Linked DNA regions of Homo sapiens: regions 1, 3, 4, 5, 6 and 7 are each linked to region 2. The links are contacts of gene promoters, found by promoter capture Hi-C in blood cells and fetal thymus (Javierre and others, 2016). All regions are on one chromosome and are shown on one strand. Each heading gives the region's core, a stretch centred on a gene start or on the middle of the fragment in contact. The rest is flanking DNA. Distances are from core to core; before and after follow the strand shown. Region 1 overlaps PARK7 (Parkinsonism associated deglycase). Region 2 holds the start of SLC45A1 (solute carrier family 45 member 1). Region 3 overlaps RERE (arginine-glutamic acid dipeptide repeats). Region 4 overlaps TNFRSF9 (TNF receptor superfamily member 9). Region 5 has its middle 5.5 kb from the start of TNFRSF9. Region 6 has its middle 41 kb from the start of TNFRSF9. Region 7 overlaps RERE (arginine-glutamic acid dipeptide repeats).

Evidence for each region. The method cuts DNA at HindIII sites, captures the fragments that hold promoters and counts their contacts. A CHiCAGO score of 5 or more calls a contact.
Region 1: a contact is called between a fragment that was not itself captured here and the fragment with the promoter of SLC45A1 in region 2, in 16 of 17 cell types (endothelial precursors, M2 macrophages, M1 macrophages and 13 more). The highest score is 34.5, in endothelial precursors.
Region 3: a fragment that was not itself captured here is called in contact with the fragment with the promoter of SLC45A1 in region 2 in 1 of 17 cell types (M1 macrophages); the score reaches 5.1 in M1 macrophages.
Region 4: a fragment that was not itself captured here is called in contact with the fragment with the promoter of SLC45A1 in region 2 in 1 of 17 cell types (total CD8 T cells); the score reaches 6.3 in total CD8 T cells.
Region 5: a contact is called between a fragment that was not itself captured here and the fragment with the promoter of SLC45A1 in region 2, in 8 of 17 cell types (naive CD4 T cells, endothelial precursors, total CD8 T cells and 5 more). The highest score is 8.5, in naive CD4 T cells.
Region 6: a fragment that was not itself captured here is called in contact with the fragment with the promoter of SLC45A1 in region 2 in 3 of 17 cell types (total CD4 T cells, activated CD4 T cells and total CD8 T cells); the score reaches 7.0 in total CD4 T cells.
Region 7: a contact is called between a fragment that was not itself captured here and the fragment with the promoter of SLC45A1 in region 2, in 1 of 17 cell types (activated CD4 T cells). The highest score is 5.1, in activated CD4 T cells.

Annotation. Positions count from the first base shown.
Region 1 is chr1:7,974,824-7,978,925 of GRCh38, reverse strand. PARK7 (Parkinsonism associated deglycase) reads right to left here. Exons shown (of 7, transcript NM_007262.5): 6 at 1,188-1,274. Among named protein-coding and RNA genes, the nearest start is that of PARK7, 15 kb to the right of the region's middle. The HindIII fragment of the contact is 323 bases long and covers 2,572-2,894 here.
Region 2 is chr1:8,315,685-8,319,412 of GRCh38, reverse strand. It overlaps SLC45A1 (solute carrier family 45 member 1), which reads right to left and starts at 1,299. Exons shown (of 9, transcript NM_001080397.3): 1 at 1,227-1,299. RefSeq lists a silencer at 1,190-1,469. The HindIII fragment of the contact is 5,366 bases long and covers 1-3,594 here.
Region 3 is chr1:8,735,962-8,740,054 of GRCh38, reverse strand. All of the region lies in intron 1 of RERE (arginine-glutamic acid dipeptide repeats), which reads left to right. Among named protein-coding and RNA genes, the nearest start is that of RERE, 80 kb to the left of the region's middle. The HindIII fragment of the contact is 604 bases long and covers 2,201-2,804 here.
Region 4 is chr1:7,914,456-7,918,065 of GRCh38, reverse strand. TNFRSF9 (TNF receptor superfamily member 9) reads left to right here. Exons shown (of 8, transcript NM_001561.6): 8 at 1-2,195. Among named protein-coding and RNA genes, the nearest start is that of TNFRSF9, 25 kb to the left of the region's middle. The HindIII fragment of the contact is 866 bases long and covers 1,347-2,212 here.
Region 5 is chr1:7,944,511-7,948,176 of GRCh38, reverse strand. No RefSeq gene overlaps it. Among named protein-coding and RNA genes, the nearest start is that of TNFRSF9, 5.5 kb to the right of the region's middle. The HindIII fragment of the contact is 3,304 bases long and covers 122-3,425 here.
Region 6 is chr1:7,897,498-7,901,595 of GRCh38, reverse strand. It overlaps a transcript of UTS2 not described here. Among named protein-coding and RNA genes, the nearest start is that of TNFRSF9, 41 kb to the left of the region's middle. The HindIII fragment of the contact is 194 bases long and covers 1,523-1,716 here.
Region 7 is chr1:8,771,647-8,775,817 of GRCh38, reverse strand. All of the region lies in intron 1 of RERE (arginine-glutamic acid dipeptide repeats), which reads left to right. Among named protein-coding and RNA genes, the nearest start is that of RERE, 44 kb to the left of the region's middle. The HindIII fragment of the contact is 5,646 bases long and covers 32-4,171 here.

The DNA of each region.
Region 1 (4,102 bases), core at 1,484-3,983, 340 kb after region 2:
AGTTAAAATAAAAAGGATAATGAGTATGTGATAGATAAAATTCTACAGGTACACAAGAAACTTTTTTTTTTTTTTTTTTTTGATAGGGTCTTGCTTTGTCCTCCAGGCTGGAGTTCAGTGGCGAGATCACAGCTCACCATAGCTTTGACCTCCCAGGCTTAAAGCGATCATCCCACCTCAGCCTCCTGAGCAGCTGCAACTACCAGTGTGCATCACCATGCCTGGCTAATGTTTTTTGTATTTTTAGTAGAGATGGAGTTTAACCATGTTGCCCAGGCTGGTCTCGAACTCGGGGCTCAAGCGATCCACCCGCCTCAGCCTCCCAAAGTACTGGGATTACAGGCGGAAGCCACTGTGCCCAGTCTACAAGAAACTTGTGGTGGCACATGCCTGTAATCCCAGCTACTCGGGAGGCTGAGACAGGAGAGTCCCTTGAACCCGGGAGGCGGAGGTTGCAGTGAGCTGAGATCACACCACTGCATTCCAGCCTGGGCAACAGAGCGAGAGACTCCATCTCAAAAAAAAAAAAAAAACCACACACAGGCATATGGGCCAGGCGCGGTGGCTAACACCTGTAATCCCAGCACTCTGGGAGGCTGAGGCAGGCAGATCACAAGGTCAAGAGTTCGAGACTGGGCGCGGTGGCTCATGCCTGTAATCCCAGCACTTTCAGAGGCTGAGGCGGGTGGATCACAAGGTCAGAAGTTCAAGACCAGCATGACCAACATGGAGAAACCCCATCTCTACTAAAAAATACAAAAATTAGCCAGGCGTGGTGGAGCACACCTGTGATCCCAGCTACTCAGGAGGCTGAGGCAGAAGAATCACTTGAACCCGGGAGGCGGAAGTTGCAGTGAGCAGAGAACGCACCATGGCACTCCAGCCTGGGCAACAGAGCGAGACTCTGTCTCAAAAAAAAAAAAAAAAAAAAAAAAAAAAAGAGTTTGAGACCAGCCTGACCAACATGGTGAAACTCCATCTCTACTAAAAATACAAAAATTAGCTGGGTGTGATGGCATGCGCCTGTAATCCCAGCTACTCAGGAGGCTGAGAGAGAAGAATCGCTTGAACCCGGGAGGCAGGGATTGCAGTAAGCCAAGATCACGCCACTGCACTCCAGCCTGGGCGATGGAGCGAGACTCCATCTCAAAAAACAAACAAACAAACAAAAACAAGCATATACTTACCTCCATTCATCATTTTGTCTTTAGCAAGAGGGTGTGTTGTAACTTTACTTCCAAAACCTATTTCATGAGCCAACAGAGCAGTAGGACCTAAGAATAAAAATAAAAAGATCTAAGTGCAGATATAGAAAAGCCCATGTTTAAAAAATCGCAATAGTGCCTGGCACAGTGGCTCATGCCTGTAATCCCAGCAATTGGGGAGGCCTAGGTAGAAAAATTGCTTGAGCCCAGGAATTCAACATCAGCCTGGGCAACACAGACCCCTTCTCTAACAACAACAAAAACTGCAACAGCAAAGTATTCTTCAAAATCAAGAGGCTCTTACCAAACATACAGCTACGATTCTGAAATGAAACACTTCCTAGTATGAGAGATAAAGTATGTTTATAACAAACGATTTGCTGAGCACATCTGGCAAAAGCACAGAAACTCAAAATACTTCAATAACCATTTACTCAAGAAGATTTACCTTGATACCAGCAGAGCATACACAGATAAACAAAATGTGCTCACCTCTCTCACCTTCCCCATCCCCAGAACAGGGACCACATATACCAGGAGTCCAAAGGAGGGGGAGGATCACTGGGGCGGGCTCAACTTCTTACCTCACTCTTAGTAAAAGGAAAGATTTAGTTACATGCTAAAGGCAACTGGTACTCTCTGAACTTCTGGATTTTATTGCTCTTTTGTAATCTTATTTTCTACTTGAAAATGGGAAATTAGGCCGGGCACGGTGGCTCATGCCTGTATTCCCAGCACTTTGGGAGGCCAAGGCGGCTGGATCATGAGGTCAGGAGATCAAGACCATCCTGGCTAACACGCTGGAACCCTGTCTCTACTAAAAATACAAAAAATTAGCTGTGCGTGGTGGCGGGCGCCTGTAGTCCCAGCTACTCGGGAGGCTGAGGCAGGAGAATGGGGTGAACCCGGGAGGCAGAGCTTTCAGTGAGCCAAGATCGTGCCACTGCACTCCAGCCTGGGCGACAGAGCGAGACTCTGTCTCAAAATAAATAAAAAATAAATAAATAAAATGGGAAATTAACACTCGTTCATCCACCTATCCACCCAAGTATGCCAGGTGGTAGGATTAAAATGGACAGCACACTGTCCTTGAAGGAGATAGCCTGTGAAGTGCCTGGAAGTGTGAGATATAAAGGCACTAGCATCACGTGATGAAAGCTACTTAAGCAAAGAACCACATGGAAGTGTCAGTTGATGAAGTCTTTCCAAATTGGCAGGTCCTAACTTGAGATTTTTATTTAAATGTATTCACTGAAAACGGCCAACTTCAGGGAGGGTCACAAGCATATTGCGTATGTAATGGTCCTAAATAAGGATTAAAAACAAAGATTTTATATACCTTTCATTGTTATTTCATCTTAAAGCTTTTTACAAAGTATTCATTCTACCTTTTTCCTCTAAGCCACACATATAAACATTCTTTCTAAGGCCTCACATGACACTTAGAAGGATACGTTTCAGAACAGCACCTTGATCTTGGAAACACTTAAGGTGCCCTGGATGGCTAAGATCCTGTGGCACAGTTTGTACACTTTTAGTGTCAGCAAACCTGAGAGGTCTTGGTCTTACTGTCCTTTCATTTTTCAACAAGACTCCAAGGAAGGAATTATATAATATACCCACAAGCTACTCAGACCGTAGCTGTTACAAACAGGAAGATCACACAAATACTACCTAATTACATAAGCTTTCTGCCTAATATCAGCTGTCAGTTTCAGACCAAGTCCTGATTTATAGCTCTTAAATCAAAAGCCTCAAATGTCTCTTCTCCACGTTATTTTTACACACAAGACAGCTATGTATGGTAGCAAATTTTAGAAGTCCGTAAGAATTGAATAATTATCAATTTTTATTTGAATGGATTTATAAATTGTTTTTAATTTTTATTTGGTAAGAATTTAAGAAGAAATTCCTACATCATCTTGCATTTTAAAGTAAACTTTAATAGATGATAGCACAGTGAGGAAAGTGATCGGTGAACGAGAATTTTTAGGCTGCTCCCTTCAAGGTGGTAATAAAATCACTGCTACGATGTGAATAAATTTATGTTACAGTTGGATTCAGGAATTTACTGATGTCTTTCATACTTATCAGGTAAGCTCATAATCACTGCTTTCTGGGGCGTCAGAACCCTATTTGGAATACTGGAGAAGAGACGTTTCACTCTCCCAGGACCTGGGATTCTGATGGATGAAAACGCTCTGTACTCTGCACTACAGTGCAGAGGGCGCAGCTGACCATGTCCCCTTCTGCAGCCAACAGCACCACCCTGTGGTAACATGCAAAATGACCACCTCTGCCAACTCCCCAGCTCCTCCAGGTGGCCAAGACCTTGCTTCCAGAGGCCTCATTCCTAGACCTGGGCATCTCAGCTGACAACTGTCCACTCCTCCAACTCCACACTTCCTCCCCCTCCCCTACTCAAAGTAAATATCATTTAATTTTCTTCTCAACATAGACTCCCTTCCAATTTGCGTTCCTCATTCACTCAATATTAAGGACTAGGCTAATATTCTTTGTGTTCAAAATGTTTCCAATCCCTAACTGCAACACTTCAGAATAATCTTGGCTGGGTGCGGTGGCTCACGCCTGTAATCCTAGCACTTTGGGAGGCCAAGGTGGGCGGATCACGAGATCAGGAGTTCGAGACCAGCCTGGCTAACATGGTGAAACCCCGTCTCTACCAAAAATACAAAAATTAGCTGGGCATGGTGGCAGGTGCCTGTAATTCTAGCTACTCGGGAGCCTGAGGCAGGAGAATCGCTTGAACCTGGGAGGTGGAGGTTGCAGTGAGCCGAAATTGCACCACTGCACTCCAGCTTGGGCAACAAGAGCAAAGCTCCCATTTCAACAAAAAAAAAAAAAAAAAAGAATCTTATTTTTCTGTTTGCCAATTT
Region 2 (3,728 bases), core at 50-2,549:
TGCTTACAATGATCCTACTACGAGCGGAAACCATTTCCTCATTTCTTTCTTCTCGTTATGAAAATGAGCTCCCCCCACGGGGTTGCCTTGGGCCACCTCCCTTCCTAGGGCGTATTTGCTTATTTGTTTATTTGAGACGGAGTCTCACTCTATCGCCCAGACTAGAGTGCAGTGGCATGATCTGGGTTCACTGCAACCTCCGCCTCCTGGGTTCAAGCGATTCTCCTGCCTCAGCTTCCCAAGTAGCTGGGATTACAGGCATGTGCCACCACGCCCGGCTAATTTTGTATTTTTAGTAGAGATGGGGTTTCACCATGTTGGCCAGGCTGGTCTTGAACTCCTGACCTCAGGTGATCCACCCGACTCAGCCTCCCAAAGTGCTGGGATTACAGGCATGAGCCACCGCGCCCGACCCCTCATGCTTCTTTCTACCCATTCTCAAAATTCTTCAGTGAGGTCCTCCAGGACCAGGAAGGTGCTCTACGGACTTGGGAGGGTGCACTTAATAGGCTAGTTACTGAATCGTGGCCGTTTCCCACTTTGCATCTCCGGCAGCTTGACCCCTACTCCAGGGCCAACTTTTCCCAAAAGCCCAGGCCAGGTGCAGCCTGAACGTGGCTTTCCTCCGCCCCTGACTCTGCTTCCCTGTAAGAGCTGAAAAACATGCACGGCTGTCACTCTAGAAATAATTAGAGAAGTTGCTGATTGTCGAGGGCAGAAGGAGCTGAACGGCTTCCACCTCAGCGCGTTCCCCTTGGTGCTGACTCGCTCGGGAAAGGGGAGTCCTCGGTGCCCTCGCTAAGTAACCCTGGGATGCTGAGGGGCGTTGCCAGGCCCCTGGTCAACAAGAGGGCTCAGCCCCACGCAAGAGGTGAGCCGGGAGCGGATGACACCTGCCCAGGTGACTAGGGACCAGGCCTCCGGCTCAAGGAGCGCATCAGGAGCTGGGGCCAAGGCCGGGGTCTCCTCCCCTTGCCAGCAAGGATGAGAGCACCTGCCATCTGGCCGGCACCCTCCCCTGGGCCCGAGGCTCCTGCCCTCGGAGGGGCGAGACGGGGGAGCTCCGTGGACTCTGCAATTCATGAGACTTCCACGAGGAACAAAGGTCTCCGTGCCGGCCTCGGGTCCCGGTCTCGGCGCCCTGACTACCCCGGGGCCCAGGGCGCGGCGCCCCGGCAGGCACGGAGCCAGAGAGCGGGCGGAGGGCGCGGAGGAGACGGTGGTACCTGTGGGTGGAGACGGCAGGCATCCCTGTCCCCGCTGGGCTGCTGCCTGCCCGGCCGCGGTCCCGGCTGCTGCAGCATCACCCGGGGCGGGGCGCTGACGTCACGGCCGCAGCCTCCGCATCCGCGCGGGGCCCGGAGCCTTAAAGCGGCGCCGCGTCTGGGGCCCCGCGGGCGGGAGGGGAGCCCGGTGTCCTCCTGGGCCCTTCCCGCGGGAGGCCCGTCCCGGTGCTTCGCGCACGACGGCGCGGTCTGCAGGATCTGCCAGGATCCCGGAGGAAAACGTCCCCCCGGCCTCACAGTTCTCACCGTTTTCTTCTGATTTTAAAAGAAATAAATACATTTTCGTGTCTTCATGTATAAATAGATACCCATGTGTTCGCGGATACGTGAATGCCGCAGTGCGTGTGCCAAGCCTGTGCCCATGTGCGCAGTGGGGCAGCCGGGCCTGCTGGAGGCGTCGCGACTCTGGGCCCGGAGCTGTCCAAGGCACTGGGGATGCCGCAAGAACAAGGCAAAGTTCCCGCCCCTGGGGGAACTTTGTAATGTAAGTAAATACATAAATACTTTATGTATTTATTATTTACTTCATTTTTTAAAATACAGAGAGGCAGGGCCTTGCTATGTTGCCCAGGCTGGTCTCGACTCCTGGGCTCAAGTGATCCTTCTGCCTCGGCCTCCCAAAGTACAGGTGTGAGCCACCGCACCCGGCTGCATGACATTTAAGAGAGAGACACACACACATTAAACAAGACATAAAATAAATGGTATGTCAGAAGATGGCAATGCCCTAGAGAAGGGGTTAGGGAGTGTGGGGCTGCAGAGGCGCTGGCCTTGCAGGTTTCTATCAGGTTGTTGGCGAGTCCTCACCTGGAAGGTGACACTAGAAGGAGGATTTGCGGAGCAGGCCGGGCACGGTGGCTCACACCTGTAATCCCTGCGCTCTGGGAGGCCGAGAGGGGCAGATCACCTGAGGTCTGGAGTTCGAGACCAGCCTGGCCAACATGGCAAAACCCCCATCTCTACTAAAAATATAAAAATTAGCCACACGTGGTGCTGGGTGCCTGTAATCTCAGCTACTCAGCTGAGGCAGGAGAATCGCTTGAACCTGGGAGGCAGGGGTTGCAGTGAGCTGAGATCGTGCCACTGCACTCCAGCCTGGGCCACAGAGTGAGACTCCATCTCAAAAAGAAAAGAAGGACCTGAGGAGCTAGGGGGGCCAGCCAGACTGACGTGTGGGGAAGGTCACGCCAGGCACTGGGAAGAGCAAGTGCAAAGGCCAGGGGCAGAAGTGAGCTGGGCTGAGTCCAATAATTACGGATGAAATAATTATGCAGCTGGTAGTGGAATAATAACCCCAGGGAAGCGCTGCAGAGTGGGGGCACGGGGCCCTGTGGAAGTTTACCGCGGCGGATTCCACCCCATTGGGAGGGTCGAGGGCTCCTCAAGGAGCCCTACCAGGCCAAGTAGAGAGAACAGCATGTCCCACACAGAGGGCTCAGAGAGCTCTGCACTGGCAGAGCTCCGGAGGGGAGAGGGCCTGGAGGCACACTGCAAAGGAAGTGGAGGGGGACAGGGATGCAGAGGCCTGGGAAGGAGGTGAGGGCTGGGGAGGTGGGACAGGCCCAGGTGTGGCCTCTTAGGCAGTTGCCAGTTTCTAAGAGCAAAGAGAAGCCTAGAAAGGTTTTATGTAGGGGAGTGGATGGCATGAATCCTATTCACAGTTAGCAAAGATCATAAAGCTCAGAGTGAAAACAGATTGGAGGGAACCAGGGGACCACATGGGCGTACCGGGTGGCACAGGTGGGAGAGTTGGGGGTGTTGGTAGAGGGAGAGAGGTGATGGACTGGCCGGGGACTTAGGACTCCATGATTGACTGAAGGTGGGGGGGTACAGGAACAGCGAGGGTGGTGCTAAGAAGTTTCTAGCTTGAGCGATGAGGGAAGAGAGTGGATTCATGGAGGCCAAAGCAGGTGTGTGCTGGAGTGAATGCCATAGGTTTGCTTTGGGATATGCTGAGCTTGAGGGCCTTCGCAGCCTCTAGGCCACCAGACACTTGGGTCTGGAGCTCAAAGATGCTCCTTTATGAGTCCCCTGCACATGGGAGCTAATTGCAGGTGAACTGTGGACCTCGCACTGCCAGGGAGAGGCGCAGGGCAGAGGGCCCCAGAGGACACCATGGGAATTTCAACAGATCCTGCCCAGGCTGAAGAGAAGGAGCCACTGGAGGGGGCTGGTTCTGGCTTCTTTTATCTCTATAACAGGGTAACAGCTTGAAAAAAATACCGATGTCCTTTTCTATTTTGCATGCAAGTGGCCTGCCATCAACTGATGAGCTTCAGCACCTCAGGGACTTAATGCAATAGAAGCTTACTTCCACATGAGGTTGGCAGAAGTGTGCCTGATGGGTGGGGACCTCTGTGAAGCCATTCAGGGATCCCGGTTGCCTCCATCTTGCTCTGCCCTGGTGCACTGAGGGAGGAGCCCAGGTGGTGCCTGCCCACG
Region 3 (4,093 bases), core at 1,253-3,752, 420 kb before region 2:
GAGAGCTGAAGAATGATGAAGAATCAGCTAACCAAAAAGTGGATATGGCAATAGGGGAAAGAAGGAAGGCTGTTCTGGGCAGAGGAAACCCATGTGCAGTGGCCCAGAGGCAAAACAGAATAAAAAAAGCAAGCAAGTAAAACTGGACGGGGGGATTAACACTATTATTAACAATAATATATTATTTATTATATAATATAATTAATTAATATATCAGTATTATTAACATTAATCATAATGGAGTGAAGTGGATGGAGTGAAGTAGATGGATTCAATAAATACTTAGAAGGTAGGACCTGTGGGACTTGATGACTGGAGGAAAAATCAAGGATGCCTCTAGGTTTTGGGCTTAGACAACTGATAGATGATTGTGTGCTTGTGTCAGTTATTGATTTATTGCTTCTCACCTCGAAGTATGTCCTTCATTGCTTGCTCTGTGAAAATGAATCTGGGCCTTTTGCTTTTCCTCCGCCAGCTGGCACGATGTTTAGTTTTGTCAGTAGAGGGTGCTGGAGAGACATTGAGGAGGAAAGAGATTTACTTGCTGGTTCCAAGAGAGGCCAGTGTGGCACATGGTGTTTCTTCAGTGCTCAGGCATTTGCAGCTCTTAGTGACCAGCAGCTCTCCTGCTGCCCAGGTAGCAGAGTACGTCCACTGAGACACTCTCCCACAAACAACTTTCCTTGGCATTCTAGAGGACTGATTTCTGGCAAATTTCACAGAGTGGATTGCCTGAAGTTCTGTCAGGTATGAGCCCCCTCCAGCAAGGTCTGGATCTCAGCCCTAGAGTTGGGGGAACTCTTTCTTGGGTGCTCTGTCTCAGCCTTAAGGGTGGTGGCAATTATATGTTGTGTTACATAATATTATATTTGCTACTATATTTTATGTCAGCTATTGCTGTGTTCTTTCAAGGTCTTATTTGCCAACTTCTCATTAATCTTTTGTTATAGTTAATGATTTTTTATCTTCCCTTGTTCAAATTACCATGTAGTTTCTTTCTCCTGATTGGACTTAGGCTATGACTGGACATAGAGTGTTCTGTTAGAATCATAAAGAGAGAGCATATTTGGGGAGAGAGATGGACAGAGTTTGGGACATGACCAATTTTAAGTGCAGAACACTCAGATATCCAAGTGCCTGTCCTATATGGGTTTGGAATGAGCTCCAAAGACCTGGATTGGAGATTGCCCAGGAAGAGTGTGAGGAACAAGATGACAGTATGGTCAGGATAGAGTCCTGTAGGTTACAGCCTGTTCACATGAAAAGGAACCTCCTAAGGAGGCTGGGGAAGACTGATTGGAGGGATACTATAGTTTATTATTATATTATTCATATGGTTTTTGTGAAGGTGAAATGAGTTGATATTATATAAAGCACTGAGCATAGTGTCTGGCACGTAAGTCCTTAGTAAATGGGACTACTGACTGTGCTGTTGTCTGCTGGGCAATGTGGTGGGTGTCAGGGATAGAGGATGACCAGGGCTGCAGGCTCTGCCTTGAGGGGTGGGGAATGGGAAGAGGCTTGTTAAGTGTGTTATAGTGAGTGGTAGGTGTCAGAAAGGCGTGAATAGGCTGGGTGTGGTGGCTCATGCCTGTAATCCCAGCACTTTGGGAGGCTGAGGCAGGAGGATTGTTTGAGGTCAGGAGTTTGAGACCAGCCCAGGAGAATCACTTGAACCAGGGAGGCAGAGGTTGCAGTGAGCCAAGTTCACACCACTGCACTCCAGCCTGAGTGACAGAGCGAGACTCCATCTCAAAAAAATAAAAAAAAAGAACAACAACAAAAGAAAGGCACGAATAAAGCTCCAAAAACTTCTGCCTTGGGGATTCTGATCAGGGGCCACAGAGGAGGTAAAGGCTCAGCTGGATCTTGGAGGAGAGGTGTAGGTTTGCCCCGTGAAGAGAGGGCAGGGAAGGTCTTCTGAACAGAGGCAACAGCGTTAGCAGAGGAGGGAGAGTGCTTGACAGCCCAGTCCCACAGCGGGGTCATGGTTTGCCTCTTGACTTAGGGGTGGGACAAAAATTGGACACACTTTCTGAATAGCTGTTTATTCTGCATCCTTATATTCCACAGTGTGCTTTGTTCTCATAACTAGATTTATAATTTATTTAGTGAGTTTTAAAATTTCTGCAGGACATTTGCTAGTTAACAATCTAAAATGATTTAAAACTTTGATTTATGCTAACATTTTGCTTAAGCTTTCATTGAGTGTGAAATTGGAGTGTGTAGGCTGAAATCTTTAAGAGGGGAAAGTTGAAATGTACTGCGTGCTGTGCCACTTCATTGAGTTTTACTCTCTGGATGAAAACATTTTTTTCCAGCCACGTGTGGTGGCTCACACCTGTTATCTTAGCACTTTGGGAGGCCAAGGCAGGAGGATCACTTGAGCCCAGGAGTTGGAGACCAGCCTAGGCAACATAGGGAAATCCTGTCTCTACAAAAAGAGTTTAAAAAGTTAAAAAAAAAAAAAATTCTGCTTCCTGAACATTGATAGAGCTCAGAACAGTTTCTGGGTCATGTGAGTTCTCTTCAACTTGCAATTGTTTTTCAAAGGTTCGACAACGGAAGAAATGGAAATTCCTAAAAATTGTATGACTCTTCTCTCAATAACTCACATTTTTGGAGATTTAGGAAACAAGTGTGATAAACTTTTGATTCTTTTGGAGGGAAAACGTGGCAATTAAGCCTTAAAGCCCTCTGTGATTTATTCTTTGTGACTGGAATGTTATTTTCCTTTTTCTCTGTCTGGCAAACTCTAAGTGGATGTATAGCTGACTTATTAGTTTCTAGTCTTTTCTAAAGCTTCTGAATTTGGTTTACCAAAGCACTGCCCTAAGATAAGTCTGTGGTAATACTGGCATGCTTTCATTGAAGACCTTCAAATTGTCAGAAAAAAAAAGGAAACAGTCCAGCAAGCATTCATTAGAATGTGTTATCTTTGGACCCTGGTAGAGGAAGTCCCTTGGCTGAAATGGCACACTCTAATCCAGAAATTCTCCTGAAAGGTCTGCTTCTGAGTCTTCAGAGGAAAGAGGAATACATTTTCTAAAGAAAGATAATCATTTGTTTTTTTCAGAAAGAAGAGTTAAACCATTCTTTATTGGCTAGGACTCCTGGGAATTATATAAGAAGGAAGCTGAGAAGGAAGATGTCAAACAATGACTCTCCAAAGGTTTTAGTTTTTTTTTTTTTTTTTTTTTTTTCCCCCTTGCTTCTCCTAGAGGTAACAGACACCTATAACTCTTTGTTCTTGGTGAAGACCAAGTGTTTGCCTAAAAGAGTGTTGAGAGACCCAAGAAAATAAGACACTTAGGGCAGTTTTACTTTACTTGACTGTCCCTTGGGTAAAATGATGGAAGTTGAAATGTGACTCTTCTGATAATTGCCTCCTCTGTTCTTCTATGATATAAGCCAAGGGTAACAAACATTCCAAGATTATTATATTTTTGAAATTTGGGGATTGTTTTGAAGTTGATAAAATATTTCATATTAGCAATTTATTGAGAAGTTGAAAGAAAAACATGATGCTCACTTTAAGAACAAGTATAGGCCGGGCGCGGTGGCTCACACCTGTAATCCAAGCACTTTGGGAGGCCGAGGTGGGTGGATCACGAGGTCAGGAGATTGAGACCATCCTGGTTAAGACGGTGAAACCCCGTCTCTACTAAAAAATACAAAAAATTAGCCAGGCGTGGTGGCGGGCGCCTGTAGTCCCAGCTACTCAAGAGGCTGAGGCAGGAGAATGGCATGAACCCAGGAGGCGGACCTTGCAGTGAGCCAAGATTGTGCCACTGCACTCCAGCCTGGGCAACAGAGCAAGACTCTGTCTCCAAAAAACAAACAAACAAACAAACAAACAAACAAACTGATGGTTTAAATGCAGAACAATTGCAGGAATTATGATAGTGAGAGCACCCCTGCACTCACCGTTTAGATTCTACAGTTGCATTTTACTATATTTGCTATAGCGTATACATTTACCATATTTACTGTAGAATCATCCTCTATCCATTTCTTTGTGTATAAGGATTTTGCTTTAGGATTTTATATTACAACAAAAGGCTACAAACAATATAGGAGAGTGGTTGAATAT
Region 4 (3,610 bases), core at 530-3,029, 400 kb after region 2:
GTTGCAGCGAGCCAAGATTGTGCCATTGCACTCCAGACTGGGTGACAAGAGTGAAATTCTGCCTATCTATCTATCTATCTATCTATATCTATATATATATATATATATATCCTTTGTAATTTATTTTTCCCTTTTTAAAATTTTTTATAAAATTCTTTTTTATTTTTATTTTTAGCAGAGGTGAGGTTTCTGAGGTTTCATTATGTTGCCCAGGCTGGTCTTGAACTCCTGAGCTCAAGTGATCCTCCCACCTCAGCCTTCCAAAGTGCTGGAATTGCAGACATGAGCCACCGCGCCCCTCCTGTTTTTCTCTAATTAATGGTGTCTTTCTTTGTCTTTCTGGTAATAAGCAAAAAGTTCTTCATTTGATTTGGTTAAATTTATAACTGTTTTCTCATATGGTTAACATTTTTTCTTGCCTGGCTAAAGAAATCCTTTTCTGCCCAATACTATAAAGAGGTTTGCCCACATTTTATTCCAAAAGTTTTAAGTTTTGTCTTTCATCTTGAAGTCTAATGTATCAGGAACTGGCTTTTGTGCCTGTTGGGAGGTAGTGATCCAATTCCATGTCTTGCATGTAGGTAACCACTGGTCCCTGCGCCATGTATTCAATACGTCGTCTTTCTCCTGCGGGTCTGCAATCTCACCTACCATCCATCAAGTTTCCATAGGGCCATGGGTCTGCTTCTGGGCTCCCTGTTCTGTTCCATTGTCAATTTGTCTATCCTGTGCCAGTATCACACTGTGTTTATTACAATAGCTTTGTAACAGCTCTCGATATCCGGTAGGACATCTCCCTCCACCTTCTTTTTCTACTTCAGAAGTGTCTTAGCTAGGTCAGGCACGGTGGCTCACGCCTGTAATCCCAGCACTTTGGGAGGCCGACGCGGATGGATCACCTGAGGTCAGGAGTTTTGAGACAGCCTGGCCAACATGGTGAAACCCCATCTCTACTAAAAAATACAAAAATTAGTCAGGCATGGTGGCATGTGCCTGTAATCCCAGCTATTTGGGAGGCTGAGGCCGGAGAATTGCTTGAACCCGGGGGGCGGAGGTTGCAGTGAGCCGAGATCGTACCATTGCACTCCAGCCTGGGTGACAGAGCGAAACTCTGTCTCAGGAAAAAAAAGAAAAGAGATGTCTTGGTTATTCTTGGTTCTTTATTATTCAATATAAATTTTAGAAGCTGAATTTGAAAAGATTTGGATTGGAATTTCATTAAATCTACAGGTCAATTTAGGGAGAGTTGATAATTTTACAGAATTGAGTCATCTGGTGTTCCAATAAGAATAAGAGAACAATTATTGGCTGTACAATTCTTGCCAAATAGTAGGCAAAGCAAAGCTTAGGAAGTATACTGGTGCCATTTCAGGAACAAAGCTAGGTGCGAATATTTTTGTCTTTCTGAATCATGATGCTGTAAGTTCTAAAGTGATTTCTCCTCTTGGCTTTGGACACATGGTGTTTAATTACCTACTGCTGACTATCCACAAACAGAAAGAGACTGGTCATGCCCCACAGGGTTGGGGTATCCAAGATAATGGAGCGAGGCTCTCATGTGTCCTAGGTTACACACCGAAAATCCACAGTTTATTCTGTGAAGAAAGGAGGCTATGTTTATGATACAGACTGTGATATTTTTATCATAGCCTATTCTGGTATCATGTGCAAAAGCTATAAATGAAAAACACAGGAACTTGGCATGTGAGTCATTGCTCCCCCTAAATGACAATTAATAAGGAAGGAACATTGAGACAGAATAAAATGATCCCCTTCTGGGTTTAATTTAGAAAGTTCCATAATTAGGTTTAATAGAAATAAATGTAAATTTCTATGATTAAAAATAAATTAGCACATTTAGGGATACACAAATTATAAATCATTTTCTAAATGCTAAAAACAAGCTCAGGTTTTTTTCAGAAGAAAGTTTTAATTTTTTTTCTTTAGTGGAAGATATCACTCTGACGGAAAGTTTTGATGTGAGGGGCGGATGACTATAAAGTGGGCATCTTCCCCCACAGGAAGATGTTTCCATCTGTGGGTGAGAGGTGCCCACCGCAGCTAGGGCAGGTTACATGTGCCCTGTGTGTGGTAGGACTTGGAGAGTGATCTTTATCAACGTTTTTATTTAAAAGACTATCTAATAAAACACAAAACTATGATGTTCACAGGAAAAAAAGAATAAGAAAAAAAGACCTTATTTTAAAAAGCTTTTTATAACTGTTGCAACATCATATCATAAAGGGTAATCATGAAATAAGGTGCCATTCTTTGTAAACTTTGGCTTTTAGTGCCGAAGGATGCTAAAGATTTCCAGTATGAGATTCCTTTTGCTTTCAACAATTGACTTATTAGTTACATAAAAATGGATGCTGTTGATCGGGTGCAGTGGCTCACACCTGTAATCCCAGCACTTGGGGAGGCCAAGGGGGGTGGATCACCAGAGGTCAGGAGTTCAAGACCAGCCTGACCAATATGGTGAAACCCTGCCTCTACTAAATAATACAAAAATTAGCCGGGCGTGGTGGCATGCACCTGTAATCCCAGCTACTTGGGAGGCTGAGGCAGGAAAATCACTTGAACTTGGGAGACGGAGGTTGCAGTGAGCCAAGATCCCACCACTGCACTCCAGTCTGGGCGACAGAGCGAGACTCTGTCTCAAAAAAAAAAAAAAAAGAAGAATGCTGTTTTTGGCCAGTCACAGTGGCTCACACCTGTAATCCCAGCACTTTGGGAGGCTGAGGCGGGTGGATCACATGAGGCCAAGAGTTCAAGACCAGCCTGGCCAACATAGTGAAACCTCATCTCTACTAAAAATACAAAAATTAGCCAGGCATGGTGGCACACGCCTGTAATACCAGCTACTCGGGAGGTTGAGGCACAAGAATCACTTAAGCCTGGGAGGTGGAGGTGGCAGTGAGCTGAGATCACACCACTGCACTCCAGCCCGAGAGACAGAGTGAGACTCTGTCTCAGGAAAAAAAAAAAAAAAAAAAAAAAAATGCTGTTTTCCCAGCTTGGGCAACATGGTAAAACCCCATCTCTACCAAAAATACAAAAAATTAGCTAGGCATGGTGGTGCATGCCTGTAGTTCCAGCTACTTGGGGGGCTGAGGTGGGAGGATCATTTGAGCCCAGGAGGTCGAGGCTGCAGTAAGCCATGAATGCACCACTGCCCTTCAACCTGGATGACAAAGTGAGACCTTGTCTCAAAAAAAAGAAAAAACTGTTGTTACATCAATATTGATTCAGATAGCTGTATTTAAAATTCACTAAGCCATTGAAGCCTTTCAAACAACTTTTCCAAATTCATTGAAGAGGCAGATTCTGACACATTCATTGAAGATGCTGACTATTGGATCCAAATGACTCCTTCACTGAACTAGCAGCCATCCAGGTGTCTACTCTGCACCAGGAACCACATCAGGACACAAGCACAAGGATAAAACTCACTTCCCACCTGGAACTTTCATTCTAGGGGAATGACATGTCTAACCTGATAAGATCCACACATCCACATGATAAGGTAAAACTCACTTCCTGCCTGGGAACTTTCATTCGAGGGGAATGACATGTCCAACGTGTTAAGATCCACATTGGGGTACAAGAT
Region 5 (3,666 bases), core at 524-3,023, 370 kb after region 2:
CAGAATGTGATACACCATAAACATGTGCCATCTTGGTGAGGATGGTGAGGGACAGAAATGACATAGAGTTTTTGCCTTAAGATACAATGACAGCATCTGGAGAAATAATCAAAGTGAAGCTTGCTCTTGGAGTAAGAGCAAGTTCCCAGAGCTCAAACTGTTTAAGCGCATGAGCGACAGCAAGGAGACTTCATACAGGGGTTGTGACCCTGAGGTCCACAGATGCTCAAAGGTGCACAGATAAAAATCAGGGAGTCTGTGAACTTAGATTTAAATTACATCTTTAGTTTCACTAACCTCTAATGGAAATCTAAACCTAACATTTCTTCCCATTTGGAATATAGTAATTCACAAAGCATAGCTGAAGGAACAGTACTCATGGCTTGGGACCAATAGTACTGAAAGTCATCTTCATATCACATTACAGTTCTTGCAGATATCCCAGAATACCATTTTGATTCATGATTAATTTGAAATTATGCCAGATACATGTTAAGTCCATATATTAGTGCATCACAAATTGGCTTTTAAAATATTTGGCAGGGACATTTCAATTCAGTTGGTTTCCTTTGTAATCCTTTGTAATATATTTTATGAATTACGAATCCTATTCTGAGGGCTCCACAAGCATAGGACCCACAAGCGAATGGGGCCTTGGGCACAGGCAGGTTAAGAGTCTGGTTAAGAGCATGGGCTCTGCAGCCAGACAGCCGAGTTTCTAATCCTTTCTCGGCTCCTTACTAGCCAGGTGACACCAGGCAGGCTACCTGGCTTCTCTGTGCCCTTGTTTCCTCACCTGTGAAACAGGGACAAAGGCTGTCCTAAGGTATAATTGTGGGAACTTCTGTAAATACATAGAACAGTGCCTTGCGCATAGTAAGCCCTCGGCCAGTGTCAGCCGTGATCAGAAAAGCATTTTACATGAGACCTGAGAAAGGACAATGACAGCTCAGGTTGGGGTCTGCATGCCAGAATGATTTCCCCAGGAAGAGAGTGAAATTAAAACATTAGGTCATGAAGAGACAGGCAGACCGCAGGACTGGAGTGAACAAATCCATGTATTTATTTGTTCATTTGATAAAGGTTTATTGACTACCAACTGTGTGTCTCTCAGCGCTGTCTCTAACACTTTTGGGGCCTGGAGCAAGTATAGAAATGGGGCCCACACACCATGTCTGAATATTTAAAAGTGGCAAATCAAGCGCAAGGAGAATATTCTACTTCACAGAGAAGTCTTCAAAGTAACTAAATAACAAATTATTTTTATGTAACAAAGTTGGCAAAGATGACTGAGTTTAACTAACATTACAAATGTGTAGATGTTTTCTGATGACCTGAAAATGTTTAAATTAGTGGTAAATAAAGGCATACAGGGCCGGGCATGGTGACTCACGCCTGTAAGCCCAGCACTTTGGGAGGCCGAGGCAGGCAGATCACCTGAGTTCAGGAGTTTGAGACCATCCTGGCCAATGCGGTGAAACCCCGTCTCTACTAAAAATACAAAAATTAGCCGGGTGTGGTGGCACACACCTGCAGTCCCAGCTACTTGGGAGGCTGAGTGGGGAGAATCGCTTGAACCCAGGAGGCAGAGGTTGCAGTGAGCCGAGATCACACCACTGCACTCCAGCCTGGGTGACACAGCGAGACTTCGTCTCAAAAAAAAAAAAAGACACACATAGTTCATAAATAATTGTATTTTTATCTAGAAAATTTATTTTTTTGCTTTCATTTCATTTGTTACAATAGATAATTTCGCATAATTTGTGTTTGGACAGTAATGACTTAAAGGATTAAGAAATAAAATATAATTGTACTTAACATATACAGCATTTGTATGTATTTAATATAATGTGTGAATTTGAGTATGTAAAATTTTAAATTTGTTTTTACATTCGTTTTTTCATTTTTCTAAAAGTTCCAAAAGTATTAGAATTAAAAACAAATTATAGTGGATAAATATCAAATATTTAAAACTTATTTTTATTAAAGAACTGAGATTTTTAATCTTTTGAAATTTAAATTGTTTTAAATATTTTTATAAAAATTGAAATTGTCATTCTGGGTCTCAGTCCTAGGTGATTCTAGTAAAGAATTAATGCTGCAGTTCTTATTCTACATATTACATATGTGCATATTCAAGAATAATATGAATTGTTTAATATTACAAAGTCTTCCTCAGACTTTGTGCATAACTGCTGTGAATTCCATGGCAATATACAAGAACTTCCAAAACCACCAAGTGGGCCATAAATTGGATCAAGCAAGTGGATAACCAGCCTGAGCAACATGGCAAAACCCCTTTCTACAAAAAAATATAAAACTTAGCTGGGCAAGGTGGTGCGCACCTGTAGTCCCAGTTACTCGGGAGGCTGAGGCAGAAGAATCCCTTGAACCCTGGAGGCAGAAGCTGCAGTGAGCCAAGATTGCACCACTGCACTACAGCCTGGGTGACAGAGTGAGACCCTGTCTCAAAAAAAAAAAAAAAAAGGATACTTGGGACTGTAGGGAAATACCACTGTCTGTGATATTCTTGCATAATAATAGATTATACAAGAATCTGTTACACCCTTGGTATCTGAGATGGATTTGACAAATCTACTTGCCTTTTGTCTGCCTGGTACTTCTATGGCTCACACCCTCCCTGCCGTTCTTGGAGGCAACAGCACAGCTCACAACTCTCACAGCACGGTGTCACCCTCAAATGGAGTTTCAAGGACATGGATCCAGGGATGTGGGGGAGTCTTCACCCAGGCCTGGCAGTGTGGGTCCAGAGAGCAGATGGAGCCGAGTTAATGCATCCCTATGCCAGCACCGTGCGCCAGACACCCAGTCACAGACGCAGCTCTGTGTTCATTGTGTTTGTGTGTTTGTGTCTCTGCTCTGGACAGAACATACTTAACAGCGTATTTGGATTGATGAACAATTTCTAAATATTTGGACACATGGTAAGCAGGCCTCTGTTTGTACTCTTGTCCTGGGGACTGCACAGTGTTGGGGGTGGTCTGAAGTTGGAGACAACTATTGATAAGCCTTAGCATATGAGTGGATGCCACCTGGAGAAAGGGCAGAACAAGGAGGAAAGGTGAGCAAAGTCGATGGCTGCTGACACCCGCCTCTCCTTATGATTCGTACTTCCTTCTCCTTACTCTGCCTCCTTCCTCTTTGATTTCCTGCTCATTTTCTTTGTTCCAAGTTTAAAAACAATTTACTCCTTCCCAGGCCTCAGAACACCTACTGACATCACAAGCACCAGGTATGTCTAATAGTGACTACTAGTTTGGGTGTTTGGAGTAGGGGTGGCGACACTGAATCTTGAAAGAATAGATCTTTCAGGCAGAAAACAAGTGTAAACAGTGAATATCCCACGGAAGAGATTCCCTCTAAGATGCGCCCTGGAAGGGCGGAAGAATATTTTATAGGAAGCTTATTTTGAGGGCTTTCTCTTTCTAAATGTCTCCTTTATCCTGTTTAGAATTGTTGGGCCTTCATGCTATTTAGCCTCAAAGTATTTAGCTGCTTGAGATATTCAAGATTAGACCTATAGTCAATCAAAATGAAATAAAATCTATTTCTTGGTTTATTTATTTATTTATTTTTTTTTTATTTTATTTATTTATTTATTTTTTTGAGATGGAGTCTCGCCCTGTCGCCCAGGCTGGAGTGCAG
Region 6 (4,098 bases), core at 370-2,869, 420 kb after region 2:
ATATACACATCCAAGTATATAGCAGCTGTATGTATATATTTACATACATACATATGTATATAGCATATACATGTATACATATAAAGCAAGTAGCACAGTGCCTGATCCATAGAACACCTCAATGAATGGAAACCTTTACAGTAAATGCTAACATTTTCCTCCATAAAGCAGCTCCTTCCACCTCCTCTCCAAGGCAGACATCAGATTAGTACCTTTTGACTCTTTCCTCTCTTTCACCACCCACATTTAATGAAACAACAAATCCCAGTGTGTATTTCTAGAATCCAATCCATTCTTCACATCCTACTCTCACTGTCCTAATTCATGCCTGTGTTATTTCTGGCCTGGATTACTGCAGTAGTCTTCCAATAGCCTGCTTCACATCCAAGCTCCATTACTTAATCTATGTAGAATGAAAGCTTACCATGCGATAACAGACTACTATGAACGGGTTTTTGCCAATACATTTGAAAACTCAGACAAAATGACCAATTCCCTAGAAAAAACGTAACTTACCAAAACTGACTTAAGAAGAAAGAAAATGTATGGATAGTCATAAAATGATTAGGGAAATTGAAACAGAAGTAAAAATCTTTGTCAAATTAAACTTAGACCTGGATGACTTTCCAGGTAAGTTCTCTTAAACTTTCATGGAGTGGATCATTCCTATTTTATAAAAACTCTTCCAGAGAATAGAAGAAAGTGGTTTATCTTCTCCTAGGTATTCTGTGAGGCCAGTGTAACCTTGATACTAAAACCAGGCAAGGACAGTAAAAGAAAAAGAGGCAAAAACATGAAACAATTTTTTTTTTTTGGAGATGGAATCTCACTCTGTAGCCCAGGTTGGAGTGCAGTAGCATGATCTGAGCTCATTGCAACCTCCACTTCCCTGGTTCAAGCAATTCTTCTGCCTCAGCCTCCTGAGTAGCTGGGATTACAGGCGCCAGCCACCACTGTGCCTGGCTAATTTTTGTATTTTTAGTAGAGATGGGGTTTTTGCCATGTTGGCCAGGCCAGTCTCGAACTCCTGACCTCAGGTAATCCACCTGGCTTGGCCTCCCAAAGTATTGAGATTACAGGCGTGAGCCACCACACCTGGCCAAAACAAAATATTAATGTGGTGTTTCATGCCCACACATTATTTAACCTACCTTGCTCGCTTCCTTCCTTCCTTCCTTCTTTCCTTCTTTCTTTTTTTGGAGACAAGTTCTGGCTCTGTCGCCAGGCCAAGTGTGGTGGTACAATCAAGGCTCACTGCAGCTTCCACCTCCCAGGCTCGGGTGATCCTCTCACCTCAGCCTCCTGAGTAGCTGGCAATACAGGCATGCACCACTGTGCCTGGCTAATTTTTAAATTATTTATAGAGAAGAGGTTTCACTATGTTGCCCAGGCTGGTCTTGAACTCCTGAGCTCAAGTGATCCTCTCCTGCCTTGGCCTCCCAAAGTGCTGGAATTACAGGTGTGAGCCATTGTGCCTGGCCATTCATTTGATATTTCTACATTCAGGAAGTGGAGCTAAGCTTTCCTCCACTTGAGCATGGAGTGACTTGCATCTGATGATTCCAGGTTATAAAAAGTCTGTGGCTTCCGGGTTGGGTACACTCTCGCTCTCTCTGCGATTGCTGTCTCTGGAGGAAGCCAATTGCTGTATCTGAGAGGCCTACATGTTGACAGTCACACAGTGAGCCTGGAAGCAGGTCTTTCCCTCGTGAAGCTTCCAGATGACTTCAGCTCTGACCAACACATTGACCACAACTTCCTGAGAGACCCTGAGCCAGAACTACATAGCTCAGCCACTCCTGGACTCCTGAGAAAACATGTTATAACAAATGCTTGCTGTTTCAAGACACTAAATTGTGGGATAACTTCTTACGTTAATATAGTTCACAAACAAAATCTAACAGTGTTTAAAAAAGATCATAAAGACAGGTGCAGTGGTTCGTGCCTGTAGTCCCAGCTACTCAGGAGGCTGAGGTGTGAGGATCACCTGAGCCTGGGAAGGTTGAGGCTGCAGTGAGTCATGATCACGCCACTGCACTCCAGCCTGGGCATCAGAGTGAGACCTTGTCTCAAAAAATAAAAAGGACTAGATAAGAACTTCCTTAACTGATAAGGGATATCTAAAGAAAAAAATTAGTAAACATTATTATTTTATTTTTTTAAAACACCTAACTGCATCGACTCAAAGTAAACATTATTCTTAATGAGAAAATGTTGAAAGTGTTTTACTTATGAGCTGAAACAGGATAAAGATGGTCACGATCGCTGTAGGGTCCCTCAGGCCTCTGTTTTCTTTCTGTGTCCTTACCGAAAATCAGATTGCCTTGACTGCTCTCTGATATGGTTTGAATCTGTGTCTTCAGCAAATCTCTTGTCTAATTGTAATCCCCAATGTTGGAGATGAGGCCTGGTGGGAGGTGATTGGGTCATGGGGCGGATGCTGTTCTCATTATAGTCAATGAGGTTTCACAAGATCTGGTTGTTAAAAAGTGTGTGGCACCTCCCTCCTCTCTCTCTTCCTCCTGTTTTGGCCATGTAAGATGTGCCTGTTTCCCCTTCACCTTCTGTCATGATTGTAAGTTTCCCAGGGCCTCCCCAGCCATGCTTCCTGTACAGCCTATGGAACCTCGAGCCAATTCAACCTCTTTTCTTTATAAATTACCCAGTCTCAGGCATTTCTTTATAGCAGTGTGAGAATGGACTAATACAGTAACCCAGCCAACTGTATAGGTTTTGTCCAACAGGCTTGAACCCAAATCAGGGCCTTGAACATTTCCAGGCACTGATGAAAGTATCTAGGTTTACTTGAAAAAAACTGTCCCTAGCTCTGGACCAAACCTTCATATAACTCTATATTCTGGGAGGCCGAGGTGGGTGGATCACGAGGTCAGGAGATCGAGGCCATCCTGGCTAACACAGTGAAACCCCGTCTCTACTAAAAAATACAAAAAAATTAGCCGGGCGTAGTGGCAGGCACCTGTAGTCTCAGCTACTCGGGAGGCTGAGGCAGGAGAATGGCATGAACCTGGGAGGCAGAGCTTGCAGTGAGCCGAGATCGCGCCACTGCACTCCAGCCTGGGCGACAGAGTGAGACTCCGTCTCAAAAAAAAAACAAAAAACAAAACTCTATATTCTGAGCCCCCTTGCTGTGAGATACCTGGTCAGAGCACCCCTTCTCTCTCTGTCCATCTTGAGGGTACTCTGCAGTTCTCGGTATATAAGTTCCCCTAATAAATGCTTTTTTCCAGGCTGGCATTTAGTGCTTTTTTTCTTTGTAAATTTAACTGGCCTGATCTCAGGACAGCTTGCGGTACTCCTTTTTGGGAATTCCCCTGCCTCCACTTTTGGGGGTAACTCCAGCCACAGGTTTGGACAAAACAATCGCCACTTATATTTTACATGTATTGGGGTTTCTAGACAGTAACTTATGACAAGAAAAAAGAAATTTAAATTTTGAAGATTCCAAAGGAAGAAACAAAACCATTCTTATTTGCAGATGGCATGGTTGTATACATGGACAACCCTAAATCTGTAGAATACTAGAAATAACAAGAGAAGTTTATCAAGATGGTTGGTCATAATATTAATGTACATTAATCAGTTGACTTGTAACCTATTAGCAACAATGCATAGTAACAACAAAACCAGAAGGTACCTAGGAATGCTCTACCAAAAGAAGGATGCGACATATATAAAGATTATGAAACATGGTCGGGCACGGTGGCTAATGCCTGTAATCCCAGCACTTTGGGAGGCTGAGGTGGGTGCATCACCTGAGGTCAGCAGTTCGAGACCAGCCTGGCCAACATGGTGAAACCCCATCTCTACTAAAAATACAAAAATTAGCCGGGCGTGGTGGCGGGTGCCTGTAATCCCAGCTACTCAGGAGGTTGAGGCAAGAGAATTGCTTGAACCTGGGCGGTGGAGGTTGTGGTGAGCCAAGATCGCACCATTGCACTCCAGCCTGGGCAACAGGCTGAGCATAACTCTGTCTCAAAAAAAAATTATGAAACATTAATGAAAGACATTAAAGAAGACCTAAAAAATGGAGAGACATAATATGTTCATGGATAGAAAGCCTCCATATTGTAAAGATAT
Region 7 (4,171 bases), core at 1,605-4,104, 450 kb before region 2:
AAGAGTTAAATGAGTTAATATATGCAAAGCTTAAGTGATGAAAGAGGTAAAATATTCCATTGTTTATCAAACACACACCATGTGTATTTTATTTATTTTTTGTTTTTATGTTAGTTACTTGTTTCCTAGAAAACATGAAATAACCACCATGTGTATTTAATATTAGGTGCTAGAAAATACCGTTAAGGGAAAAAATTGTTTTTTAAAAAAGTTGATTTATTTGTTTAGTTTTTAAAGGCAAGATCTTACTGTGTTGCCCAGGCTGCAGTGCAGTGGTGTGATTGTAGCTCACTGCAGCCTCTACCTTCTGGGCCCAAGAGATCCTCTCATTTCAGCCTCCTGAGTAGCTGGGACTACAGGTGCGTGCCACCACATCTGGCTAATTTTTATTTTTTTATTTTTTGCTGAGACAGGGTCAGGGTCTTACTTTCTTGCCCAGGCTGGTCTTGAATGCCTAGCTTCAAGAAGTCTTCCTGCTTCGGCCTCCCAAAGTGTTGGGATTATAGGTGTGAGCCACTGTTCCCGGCCCAGAAAAAATTTATGAAGAAAGAAGAAATGTGGCTGGGTGTGGTGACTCATGCCTGTAATCCCAGCACTTTGGGAGGCTGAGGCAGGTGGATCACAAGGTCAAGAGATCGAGACCATCCTGGCCAACATGGTGAAACCCCGTCTCTACTAAAAATACAAAAATTAGCCGGGCGTGGTGGCGTGCGCCTGTAATCCCAGCTACTTGGGAGGCTGAGGCAGGAGAATCGCTTGAACCCGGGAAGTGGAGGTTGCAGTGAGTTGAGATCGCACCACTGCACTCCAGCCTGGTGACAGAGTGAGACTGTTTCAAAAAAAAAAAAAAAAAAAAAAAAAAAAAAGAAAGAAAGAAGAAATGCTACTATGAAAGGCTGATATGGGGCTTTTCACATGATTTAATTCTCCTCAGCTGGAATAATGAAATAATTTTAAGGAAAAGCAGATGAGGGTTGGACTATTGAGGAGTTAAAATACCCACCAATGAATGAGCACGTTCATGTTTGTTATGTTTATGTCCTTGAGAAGATTAGATAAACATGGTTTTATTCTGTATAATAGACTATTAATTCTTGTTTGATTCTTTTAGGTCATTGAAATAAGTTAGATTTCTTATAGGTTTTAATAGTTTGCCAAAATGATGGCCGGGTGTGGTGACTCATGCCTGTAGTCCCAGCAGTTTGGGAGGCCGAGGCGGGTCGATCAGCTGAGGTTGGGAGTTCAAGACCAGCCTGACACAACATGGAGAAACCCTGCCTCTACTAAAAATACAAAATTAGCCGGGCGTGGTGGCACATGCCTGTAATCCCAGCTACTAGGGAGGCTGAGGCAGGAGAATCGCTTGAACCCAGGAGGCGGAGGTTGGGGTGAGCCGAGATCGCGCCATTGCACTCCAGCCTGGGCAACAAGAGCGAAACTCTGTAGCAAAAAAAAAAAAAAAAAAAAAAATAGTTTGCCAAAATGAAGGAGATAATATTAAATTCCTACAAGCAGTGAGTATAAACCAGAGAAAGTAGAAGTGAAATCTGAAAGATGCTGAAATGAAGAAAACTGAGGACCAAAGAAAGACAGGTACAGTTGAGGCTGGAGAACAAATGCATCTCGAATATTCAGGATTGCTAGTGATTATGGCTAGAGAATGGGATGCCTCGAATGAATGGCTTTAGAGGTAGAGCAAGTTTGGCTGCGTGTGTGGATTCGTGGAGAGAGGACACCTAGGAACAAGGTACCTGGTTAGATGAGTACATTTTTGTTGCCATCACCCTGGATTATGATAGGATCCTGTTGAGAAGGAAGGCTATGAGCTGATGTCAAAGACTTGAGTAAATGAGTGGGAAAGATCATTAGAGATCATTCTGTTAAAATTCTATGGCAGTTCTTTTGTGACATTTCCCCTTCTCATTGTCTTTGACTGTCATTGATGTCAAATGTATGTACAGCATTGTAACTTACTTTAGATGTAACTTTTTTCTGAGATGGAGTCTCGCTCTGTCGCCCAGGCTGGAGTGCAGTGGCGCGATCTCAGCTCCCTGCAGTCTCTGCCTCCCAGGTTCAAGCGATTCTCCTGCCTCAGCCTCCCAAGTAGCTGGTATTATAGATGCGCACCACCACGCCCGGCTAATTTTTGTGTTTTTAGTAGAGACAGGGTTTCACCGTGTTGGTCAGGCTGGTCTCGAACTCCTCACCTTGTGATTCGCCCACCCTGGCCTCCCAAAGTGCTGGGATTACAGGCGTGAGCTACCGTGCCCAGCTAATTTTTGTATTTTTTTACATGGGGTTTTGCCATGTTGTGCAGGCTGGTCTTGAACTTCAGAGCTCAAGTGATTGGCGCACCTTGGCCTCCCAAAGCACTGGGATTTCAGGTGTGAGCCACCGTACCCGGCCAGCAACCTTCTTTCAGCATCTGCTTTCTTTGGTTGAGAGTTGTTATGAAGACATATCATCTGGTTATGATTTAATATAATTTCATATTATTGCTATAGCATTTCAAAGCATGAAATATTTCTTGAACATCTCTATTTAGACAGATGTTTTGACTTTTAGATCTTTAAGTTAAGATGACAAATAATAGTAACATTTTTGGACCTTAAAATTCTCAAAAACTTTCTTTGGTAATTCAATCAACAAAATTCTTTTTCTTTTAAGTTTAGTTGATATTGTATTAAAGGTACAGACCAGATATTCACTTATTTTTTTATTTTTATTTTTTAAAGAAGTAAATTTCTTAGTTGCCCAGGCTGGAATACAATGGCATGATCTCTGTTCACTGCAACCTTCACCTCCTGGGTTCAAGCGATTCTTGCGCCTCAGCTTCCCAAGTAGCTGGGATTACATGCATGTGCCACCAAGCCTGGCTAATTTTTGTACTTTTAGTAGATGGGGTTTCACTATGTTGGCCAGGCTGGCCTTGAACTCCTGGCCTCAAGTGATCCACCTGCCTCAGCCTTCCAAAGTGCTGGGATTACAGGCATGAGCCACTGTGCCCAGCCCATAAATTTCTTTTTCTTTTCTTTTTTTGAGACCGAGTCTTGCTCTGTTGCCCAGGCTGGAGTGCAGTGGCCAATCTCAGCTTACTGCAACCTCTACCTTCCGGGTTCAAGTGATTCTTCTGCCTCAGCCTCCTGAGTAGCTGCTGGGACTACAGGTGCCCGCCACCATGCCCAACTAATTATTTTGTATTTTTAGTTGAGATGGGGTTTCACCATGTTGGCTAGGCTAGTCTTGAACTCCTGATCTCAGGTGATCCACCTGCCGTGGCCTTTCAAAGTGCTGGGATTACAGGTGTGAACCACCAAGTCCTGCCGAATTTCTTCTTCTTGGAAACACTGATTTTCCTTGTTGAGTTCCTCAAAGCCATTGTAAAGTTCTTATCAGAGCAAGGTACAGTATGTAATCTAATTTTTTTTCCTTGCTGGATTTGTAAGTTTACTTTGTAAGATTTTACTTAGAATGATGCTTCAAGAGGATAAAGTAAAACAGAATTTATATATCAGGAACAAATATCTCAAGTAGCAGTAAGTTTCAGTCCAGTGTAGTGACAGGTTATATCTCGTAATTAAAAAAAATAAGCATATGTTTGTAATTGAGTATATATTTCAATATAAAACAGTTGAAGCTCCTGCCTTCATGGAGTTTATAGAGATAACAGCTGTCTGTATTTTGGTGTCTTTTCTTCCAGTCTCTTTTTCTAGTTATATGTATTACAAAATTGGGATTATTTTACAAAATTGGGTATATAGATATTACATATGTACATGTACATGTGACAGTACATACATACAAAATTTTATATGTTTTCCTAAACAGCGTTTGCAGCAGAGTTCTCACAAGTCTCTAAAAACCTATTTTATCTTTCTTTTTTCTTTCTTTTTTTTTTTTTTTTTTTTGAGACAGAGTCTCACTCTGTCACCCAGGCTGGAGTGCAGTGGCGTGATCTCCGGTCACTGCAAGCTCCGCCTCCCGGGTTCATGCCATTCTCCTGCCTCTGCCTCCCGAGTAGCTGGGACTACAGGCACCCGCCACCGCGCCTGGCTAATTTTTTGTATTTTTAGTAGAGACGGGGCTTCACCTTGTTAGCCAGGATGGCCTCTATCTCCTGACCTCGTGATCTGCCTGCCTTGGCCTCCCACAGTGCTGGGATTACAGGCGT